Linked DNA regions of Homo sapiens: region 2 is linked to region 1. The links are contacts of gene promoters, found by promoter capture Hi-C in human tissues and cell types (Jung and others, 2019). All regions are on one chromosome and are shown on one strand. The core of a region is centred on a gene start or on the middle of the fragment in contact, and the rest is flanking DNA. Distances in the headings are between cores, read along the strand shown.

The links. Contacts are between HindIII fragments. The study calls those that stand out against the background at their distance.
Region 2: a fragment that was not itself captured here is called in contact with the fragment with the promoter of CETN1 in region 1 in 2 of the 25 tissues and cell types used here (IMR-90 fibroblasts and neural progenitor cells).

The regions. Positions count from the first base shown.
Region 1 is chr18:577,367-582,320 of GRCh38, reverse strand. It overlaps CETN1 (centrin 1), which reads right to left and starts at 1,941. Exons shown (of 1, transcript NM_004066.3): 1 at 207-1,941. The coding sequence starts at 1,912. The coding sequence ends at 1,394. The HindIII fragment of the contact is 12,122 bases long and covers 1-4,565 here.
Region 2 is chr18:542,517-547,839 of GRCh38, reverse strand. No RefSeq gene overlaps it. Among named protein-coding and RNA genes, the nearest start is that of LINC01925, 30 kb to the right of the region's middle. The HindIII fragment of the contact is 7,899 bases long and covers 1-5,323 here.

The sequences.
Region 1 (4,954 bases), core at 692-3,191:
TTAAGCCCAGGGTAGTTTGTTCCCCTGATTAGATCCACACCCTCTGAAGGGTAAAATTGCTGGCAAAGCAAGTGAAATGTTCCCAGAATTTGAGCATTTATCTTAATGGGGCTTTGTATGAGGATTTAATTTAGGTTTAGTTGTGACCAAAATATCCTGCCTCTTTGTTTTGTTGCCTGTTATTAAAACATTAGTCAAAGCCTCCATCTCAGCAGATCTATTTGTTATTTTCCCACAATTACATTTTTAAAATTTTCTTTAACTTCAGATTTGTAGCTATGCAAAATGATGATATCTTACTCCAAAGCAAAAAATAATTTATAACAGAAAACAAGCAGTATTAACACATAAACAAGCCACAGTGGAGCAGTTTACTGGGATTTGTAAAATAGAGCACTACTGAAATGCCAGACACTCTGACATCAACTATATGTCAGAGGGGCTAAAAGTCAAGTACCAAGAACCAAGATGTTCTAAGGATTAGCAGGGAGAGTGTCTCATAATCAAGCAGTAATAAGATGACTAAGGTTATAATAGTCCAATAACTAAGATATTTGTTGCTATTTCCAAGGACTATAAGTAGCTTAAAATGTTATATTAAGGTATTTGTTATAATTTCCTAAACTAAGATCCTACATTTGTAAATATTTACTCAAAATCGTTTGTTAGCGTAACCTCTTAAGCAAATTATACTTTGCTTGGGCCAGTATTAGATTTTATTTTTATTCTGTAGCCCAGGTATACATACTAGCCCTAGATAAACCCATGGTGGACAATTTACACATGAACGAAGAATCATTTGCAGGTATAAAGCCAGTGAATAGTCAAAATTGCACAACGTACTACCACCCAAGCAAGTCTATTCTTTATAAGATTATCTGTCCTGAGCTCCGTAAGTTTGTAAGTGGCCACCCTGTTTTCCTTCAAACTGGTATTCAGCTAAGTGGACAGGCTAGGCAAATCTACTGGCAGATTCCATCTCATTATGCTGGAACAATGACTGGAATTTAAGGAATGATATATGAAGCAAGATAATTTAAGACCACCAAAGAAGTGACAAAGGGAACCACATTTTTGTGTGTCCCAGAAGCTGTCCTGCCTCCAGATCAACAGATGAACAGCAAGTTCAGCACAGGGCAAATGGAGGGCGCACTCAAACTTCAGGGCCCTTTGTTTAACCTCATGTGCTCCAGGTTGACTCTTGAGAATTAAAACCCAAAACTCACATTACAAGCATCTTTCAAATTCTATTATTGAACTAGAGATATGGAAATAGATCTAGACAAATTATGGGGGTGAGGGGGTGAAGAAGGGACAGGCAGCCGCTGTCCTCTAAGGTTTCACAAAATGGAAGCAGGCAACCCAGAGAGTCACTTTAGCTTCTGAACCGACTTCAGTAAAGGCTGGTCTTCTTCATGATCCGAAGGAACTCCTCCTCGTTCACTTCGCCGTCCCCATCCCGATCAGCTTCGTCGATCATCTCCTGCAGCTCCTCATCCGTGAGGTTCTCCCCCAGCTCGTTGGCCACACGCTTCAGGTTTTTGAACGAGATCTTCCCGGTCTCATCGTCATCAAAGAGCCTGAAGGCCTTCAGGATTTCTTCTTTGGTGTCCTTCTCGGACATCTTCTGCGTCATCACGGCCAGGAAGTCATTGAAGCTGATCTTCCCCGTGCCTTCCCTGTCCACCTCGGAGATCATTTTCTTCATCTCTTCCTTCCTGGGTTCGAAGCCCAGCGCTCTCATGGCCACCTTCAGCTCCTTCGCGTCGATGGTCCCACTTCCGTCCACGTCGAAGAGGTCAAATGCTTCCCGAACTTCTTGCTTCTGATCCTCAGTGAGCTCGGGCTTAGGTGCCACCTTTCTCTTTTGGCCGGTGGAGGCAGCGCTGGGCTTCTTGAAGCCGGAAGCCATCCTGCCGCTCTGGCCGCCGTGGTCCCAACGGCACCGCCCCGCGCTCTCATTCGGGCGCCCCCCGCCGGCGCGGCGCGGGACCACCCCTCGCTCACTGCCAACGCCCACGCCCGCTGGGGCCTGGAGCCGGCCCGGGGAACCTCTTCCTACGCCCTCCCATCTGCGGGATCTTGCTTAGGCGAGAATCCGCTGTCCCCTCGGGTCATTAACCGGTTTCCACGAGTTGACGCCTGAGCTGGCAAGAACAGCCTGTAGCCACAGTTGTCTTCTGTAATCCACTGGCGCTGGCAGTTCTTTCCAAGATATGTGCTAGCATCCATAAGACCCCAGTTTTATAGGTTTCTTTAGGGACTCTTCCTCTCTCTCTCTCTCTCTCTCCTCTCTCTCTTTTGACAGGAGTGCACTGGTGCCACTCAGCTTACTGCAGCCTCCACCTTCCAGGATCAAGTGATCCTCCCACCTCAGCCTCCATAGTAGCTGAGACTACAGGGCATGCCACCACACCCAGCTAAATTAAAAAAAAAAATTTTTTTTTTTATAGAGACAGAGTCTCACCATGTTGCCCAGGCTGGTCTGAAACTCCTGGGATCAAGGGATTTCCCGCCCCAGCCTCCCAAAGTGCTAGAATTACAGGCATGAGCTACCAAGCCGGGCCTCTCCTTTTTATACCATTTAAAAAACCCTCTTGTTCTAGCGGCAACACCCAATGAGGTGACAGGTCCTAAGGGTAAATTTAGGATAATCAAGATTGAGTGTGATCACTTGACATTCAATGTGGGGAAGGAGAAGGAAGAGAGAATATTAAAAGTCATACCATGTGTTCAACTTGACATAAATGGGAAACAGAGAAAATGGAAAAATTTATGTATAAAATGCGTAGAAGTTTGTCTCCTGACATTACACTCAACAATAATACAATGTTTCTGGCATGTTCTCAAATATGAAATGTAATATCCAAATGTATGATTTACTTTCAGTGTTTCCATTTTACATACTCAGTATAATTGCACTTGAATAATGGTCATAATTTCATTCATGAGGCTTTTGATTTGGAGGGAGGGAAGTGGAAATACTACATTCTGGTATATTCTAGTATTTTCTTTTCTCTAACCTCCTAGCAGCACATTACTCTCCTTGCTTATCATCCAATCAGAGCTGTGCTGAAACCCACGCTCTGGTCGCCTTCCTTTGGCAATGGGCACAGGAGATGATGCAGGACATGTTGGGACTCAAAATTGCCTCCTGGGAATAAAGCGGTTCTCCTACAAACCAAAGAGCAAGAGGAAAATGGAAAAGAAAAAAAAAATTACCAAATAAGCCCACCAAGGAATTGCCTGTAGAATTACTTTGCATTCTTTTAAATAGTTACAGAAAAGAAAGCTGACTTATTTTTTTAGCATTCTCCCCCTGCCCCGCCCCCCCGCAATCAAATCTCAATCTATTAATATATCAATACCTTTTGTAACCTATGAAGGTTACAAAAGATGTCACTTTGAAGAGTTTGTGTTAAAGAGTTTTATGGCTGGGTGCAGTGGGTCACACCTGTAATCCCAGTAATTTGGGAGGCCAAGGCGGGAGGATCACCTGAGGTCAGGAGTTCAAGACCAGCCTGGCCAACAAGGTGAAACCCTGTCTCTATGAAAAATACGAAAATTAGCTGAGAGTTGCTGCGCACAACTGTAATCCCAGCTACTTGGGAGTATGAGGCACGGGAATCGCTTGAACCCAGGAGGCGGAGGTTGCAGTGAGCAGATATTGTGCCCCTGCACTCCACCCTAGGCAACAGAGTGAGATTCTGTCCCCAAAAAAACAAACAACAACAAAACAAAACAGTGCTGGATACAACACAGTAGGTAGGTTAATAAATATTCGTTGAATGAATGCATGACAATTAAGGTTGGTCCTAAAATACCTTCTGAATACAACAAGTGAAAACCCCAAAAGATTAAATGATGCCAGGAATGTTTTACAAACTGTTTTTTAAAATTAGTGGTCAGATATTGTTTACATGGCACATTTAATTAGCCATATATCACTACCTGCCCCAGTTCGATATGTGACTTAGTTGACAGAGAGCCTGGACACAGGGTTTCTTCTAAAGGCCAAGGAAACTTACATAGGACCTCCCCTCTCCTGCCTTCCAGTACTTGTTGTGGACAGTGTCAACTCAAGGCACACTGGCAGGCAGACACTACAGCTGCTGTTCTTCTAACACCGCAAATCCTTGTGACCTGCTTTTTTCCATGTCAGAAGCCTGGGATCTTATCCCAAGTCTATGCCTTATTATCTCTGTGACTTTGGAAAGTCACTTAAACCACCCAGAGTCATCGAAACACCTGCAAAGTAGGCATCATCATAAAGCTTCCCACTGCATTTTCAGTGGGAGAATGTACACAAAAGCTCCAGGAACAGTGCCCTAGTGGGGCCATACAGATCTGGGTAATTGTTAGTTGAATAAGAATTTTTCTCAGACATTGTACATTTCCTTTGGCACCCACCCTTCTGCCCAAATTCAAGCCAAGCTATGATGTGTTGGGAAAAACTGAAGTATGGAAGCTGCCTTATATAGAGCTACATTTGGGCCAAGCTGAACTAAAAGCAAAACGGTTGTCATGGTTTCCAGATGTGTGCAATCAACAGTTACAACAAAGGGCCACCAAGAGCTCCCTTCATAGAAACAGTGCCCATAGTCACAGTCAGCTCTTGGTGGGGAGTTACATTATGTTCAGAGTCCAAACTCTGACTTAAGAAGGGAAGGGAAACACATTTAATGTGTGCCTAGCTTTGGGCGTGCTTCTCATAGTTGTCATCTTATTTGATCCTTGCCATCATTTCCTATTTTGCAGATGAAAAAAATGAGGCCCAGGAGAGGCCTGTAACACATATTTAATGGTACATGGCCAATAAATGGTGGCTCTGGGATTTAAATCCTGGCCTGCTGAAGCTTTGTTCACTACATCATGCTGCCTTCTCCACAAGTTGATTCTATATTACCAAAATATAGAATCACTGGGAAGACATGATACAGATTTTGTTACAGTA
Region 2 (5,323 bases), core at 1,503-4,002, 35 kb after region 1:
AGCAGCAAAGCATTCAAGAGGTGACTTGAGTTCTGTTAAAGGCATTCAGTTTTATAGGGTAAGCAGAACATAAAAGTTTGGAAAATTTGTAGCCTGACTATGCAATAGAAAAGAAAAACCCATTTTTCTGGGTAGAAATTCAAGCCAGCTGAAGAAATTTGCATAAGTAGCAAGGAACCTAATGTTAATCTTCAAGACCATGGGGAAAATGTCTTCAGACCATGTCAGAGACCTTCACAGCAGCCCCTCCCATCACAGTCCTGGAGGCCCAGGAGGAAAAAGTGGTTTTGTGAGCTGGGCCCAAGGACCCCATGCTGTGTGCACCCTAGGGACTTGGTGCCCTGCATCCCAATTGTTCCAGCTTTGGCTGAAAGGGCCCAACATAGGGAGTTGTGGCTTCAGAGAGTGGAAGCCCCAAACCTTGGCAGCTTCCACGTGTGTTGAGCTTGCAGGTGCACAGAAGTCAAGAATTGAGGTTTGGGAACCTCTGCCTAGATTTCAGAAGATGTATGGCAACTCCTGGATGTCCAGGCAAAAGTTTGCTGCAGGGGCAGGGCCCTCATAGAGAACCTCTGCTAGGGCAATGCAAGGGAAATGTGGGATCAGAGCCCACACACATAGCCCCTACTGGGTCACTGCCTAATGGAGCTGTGAGAAGAGGGTCACTGTCCTCCAGACCCCAGAATGGTAGATTCACTGACAGTTTGCACCATGTGCCTGGAAAAGCTGCAGACACTAAATGCCAGCCTGTGAAAGTAGCTGGGAGGGAGGCTGTACTCTGCAAAGCCACAGGAGTGGAGCTGCCCAAGACCATTGGAACCCACCTCTTGCATCAGCATGGCCCGGATATGAAACCTGGAGTCAAAAGAGATCATTTTGGACCTTAAAAATTTGTCTGCCCTGCTGGATTTTGGACTTGCATGGGCCCTGTAACCCCTTTGTTTGGCCAATTTCTCCAATTTGGAATGGCTGTGTTTACCCAATACCTGTATCCTCGTGTATCTAGGAAGTAACTAGCTTGCTTTTGATTTTACAGGCTCTTAGGTGGAAGGGACTTGCCTTGTCTCAGGTGAGACTTTGGACTGTGGACTTTTGGGTTAATGCTGAAATGAGTTAGGGCTTTGGGGGACTGTTGGGAAGGCATGATTTGTTTTGAAATGTGAGGACAAGAGATTTGGAGGGGCCAGGGATGGAATGATATGGTTTGGTTGTGTCCTTATCCAAATCTCAAATTGAATTGTATCTCCCAGAATTCCCACTTGTTGTGGAAGGCTCCCAGGGGGAGGTAATTGAATCATGGGGCCCTGTCTTTCCTGTGCTATTCTCGTTATAGTTAATAAGTTTCACGAGATCTGATGGGTTTATCAGGGGTTTCTGCTTTTGCTTCTTCCTCATTTTTCTCTTGTCGCCACCAGGTAAGAAGTGCCTTTTGCCTCCCACCATGATTCTGAGGCCTCCCCAGCCATATGGAACTGTAAGTCCAATGAAACTTCTTTTTATTCTCAGTTTCAGGTATGTCTTTATCAGCAGCATAAAAATGAACTAATGTTCAATTCTTGGGGGCTGTCAACTCCATGCTCTCACTTCACAAATATTGCCAAATCCCATTTGGAACCAAGTATCCTGAATATCTTGGCACCAAGGCCAATATATTATTTGTGTCCACACATTTCCCCTAATTTCAGCCTTGGTAGACAGGAAACCAACCAAAATTACATAAATGTGTCATATCAAGTAGGGAAATATGAAAGCAACAGTATTCAAAGACAAAATTGAATATGCCTCATCACCATTGCTTTGCCATTGATATTCCGGATATTGTGGTTGTCTTCTCAATATCCATTCCCATTTTTGTTGGTACTATCCTACTTTTAATTTAAACATCTATCCCAGCTGAATGCAAGGGTATGTGCTTTTGAGGAAACGGTGACAACCTTGCATTGAAGAATTGAGTGTGTGTCTCAGCAGTCACATAATGTTGCCTCTGACCACCATTCTTGGCCAAAGATTGTCATGTGACCCTATTTGCGATAGTAGGAAGCAAGGGAAGGTTTACTGGGGTTTTCAGAGAGAGCTTCTAGAAAAACCGCCTGGTATCAGCAAAATGGGAAAGCAAGGAGGAAACACAATTTGATGAGAAAAGGTCATTTTAGATATGATGACTTTTATTCTTCCTTTCAGTAAGTGTTGGGTGCCTATCATGTGCTGGACACCATGTTCCTGCTCTCAGGACACACAGACCAGTGAGGGAGACTAACATGTAAAGAGATAATAGCAATACAACCAGCAAGGGAAATTTACTGTGTTGTGTGCACAGGGTATTGTGAAAGGACCCGTAAGTGACAGGGTCAGGGAAAGTTTCTGCATCAGTTACCCCCTAGGAGGAACCCCAAAGTGGGGTGAGGTGGGAAGGGAAGAATGGGAATTGCGGGCACATGGGACTGCCCGAGCCAATGCATAAGGCACCCACCAGAGCCACATAAGGAGCTGAGATGTTGAGGAGAGGCTCTTACCCAAGCCTTCATCTGCAGGCACAAAGTGGAGCAGGGTGAGTGGTCACCCTTGGCAATGTGACCAACATAAGTGTGTGTGCTAATACCACTGACCCTTGAACAGGATGGGCCTGAACTGTGGAGGTCCACCTATATGTGGATTTTCTTCTGCCACTGCCACTCCTGAGACAGCAAGACCAACTCCTTGTTCTCCTCCTCCTCAGCCTACTCAATATGAAGACGACGAGAATGAAGACCTTTATGAGGGTCCACTTCCACTTAATGAGTAGTAAGGATATTTTCTCTTCCTTATGATTTTCTTAATCACATTTTCTTTTCTCTAGCTTACTTTATTGTACAAATACAGTATGTAATACATATACAAAGTATGTGTTAATAGACTGTTTATGTTATCGGTAAGGCTTCCATCAACTGTAGGCTATGAGTAGTTAAGTTTTGGGGAGTCAGAAGGTATACTCAAATTTTTTACTGTGCCGGGGGTCGGCGCCCCTAGTACCTGAGATGTTCAAGAGTCAACTGTAATTCCCACCTCCCAAATCACATGCTTTTCCTCTCAGGGAGAGGGAAGTATAGATGGAAGAATAGACACAGCTACTCTTTGTTGAGTTCCTACTACGTTTCAAGAACTGTCTTAGTGGCTGGGCACAGTGGCTTACGCCTGTAGTTCCAGCACTTCGGGAGGCTAAGGTGAGCAGATTGCTTGAAGTCAGAAGTTCAAGACCAGCCTGGGGAACATGGCAAAACCTCATCTCTACAAAAAATACAAAAATTAGCCAGGCATGGTGATGTGCACCTGTGGTCCCAGCTACATGTGAGGCTGAGGCAGGAGGATTGCTTGAGCCCAGGAGGACAAGGCTGCAGTGAGCCATGATTGGATCACTGCACTCCAGCCTGAGTGATAGAGCAAAACTCTGTCTCAAAAAGAAAAAGAAAAAGAAAAAGAACTGTTAGATGTTGTCTCAATAATCATAACAATTCTCATGCTAAAGAAGATACATTTGAAATTCTGATAGGTTCTATGATTTTCCTAAGGCATACAGCTAGCAAGTGGTGGAGCAGGGATTTTCAGATCATTCCGGCTCCAAAGCTCAAGTCTACACTTAATTTTGCTTATGTTGAATCAGCTTGAAACTTCAGTTTGAATGTAACCACTTGGTATTAATTAGAAAGAAGGAGAAATTGGCAAGTGGTATTTTAAAGGCTTTGAACCAGTCTCTGGAGAGCACATTAAATACTCAAAAGCAAAGCAAAAATGTATACTAATAAGATCACAGCCATTCAAAAGGCAATTGTTTGCCATAAGTTCCAAAAAGAATAAAAGGAGGGGAGCTCAGTTTCTCCAATTTTTCATGCCAAGGGCTCAGGTTCCAAGTTTCCCTCATGGCTCTTTCTTCACCTCTTCTCCTAACATGTTCCCCGTCACAGCTTCACTCCATAAGATGTAAGTGGTATTTATAGGAAATGCTGATCACTGCCAACAAGAGAATACTCGCATTAAACACAATTTAGAACAACCTTCTCTCCAGTTGTTTGTAATAACCTCTTGGAAGTTTGAAATTAAAATCTGTATCCCATCCAGCCTTTCTCCCCGCCTCTTCTATTACACTAAGCCAAGAGCTTGCCCTAAACATCCTTCAACTCCCTGGCCCACCACCCTGACGTGCTCTGTAGCTAATTATTTCAATCCCTAAATATTAGTCCTTTCTCTTGTCTCCTCTAGTGTCCTGGACATGATTCATCCTCCTGGGTATTTCATTATTTATGTCAATGAACATCTTTTTCCCTTGAACACACTCTTTCCCCTTTCCTTACCCTATCTTCTGTTAATATATTTTCAACAAAATATGTGTAGAATTTCTCTTTCTTCACAGGAAAAGATCCTAGTGTTGAGATAATCCAACCTTCTAATTCAAGAGACAAAGCCATTAAAACCCAGAGAGATTATGCAACTTATCTAAACTCACACAGCTAGAAAGAGGCTAAGTCAAATCAAGAAAGAAGGACCCTTAGGTTCTAGTTCAATACTTGTTTCAACACCCTGCACTACCACCGAGTCACAGCCACCCCAGCCACTTGGCAATTTGGTGTCAGATTGTGTCTGCCCAAGGCTGGGGGTATGTCCCATTTCATTTCTCAAGTGACATGTAACATAGTGGCACAGGTGCAGTTGTCTTAGTGGTTTGTCTTGTGGCCCAAATGCTGCATATGTACTCATTATTCTGCAATAAGGTTCTTAAAAGAGGTATCTTCCAAAAGCCTTCCCTCCAAGGCCATTTGCTGGTGTGTGCCATCCCTCCTCTAAGGAAGTTTTAAGGGGACAAGGCGAGAATTGTTAAGTCAAAGTATGTGAGGCTGGGTGGGCTGGGTGTGGCTTCTCAGAGGCAGGGCCCAGAATTGCTAAGCTTTGCAATTGTGCTACAGAGAATCTGGGGGGGTGTGACAAAGATGTTTTTCTTTGTTCCTATTGCCTTAAGGTTCTTTGGGACTATTGCTTTGCTAATGAACACAGCAAACTACACAGAAAAAGCAGCCATCAAAGCCAGAGTTTTCACTGTGGCATGTGGGTCTACAAAACAGCAGTCCTCATGCCCATTTGAGTCATTCATGTCTTGACATCTGCCAGTGTGGATATAATCATTGATTGTTCTTTTAAAGCCTGAAATGCTTGTAAGTACCAGGAAACAGAAGGTGAGCTTCTGGACATGAGTGGAAAAGCCCCGGCACCTGAGTTTGGTGGGACAGGACAATGTTTGACCCACTGCCCAGGACTGGCTTTGTGGGTGTGCAACTTGTGCTCGTTGTGATGCTCT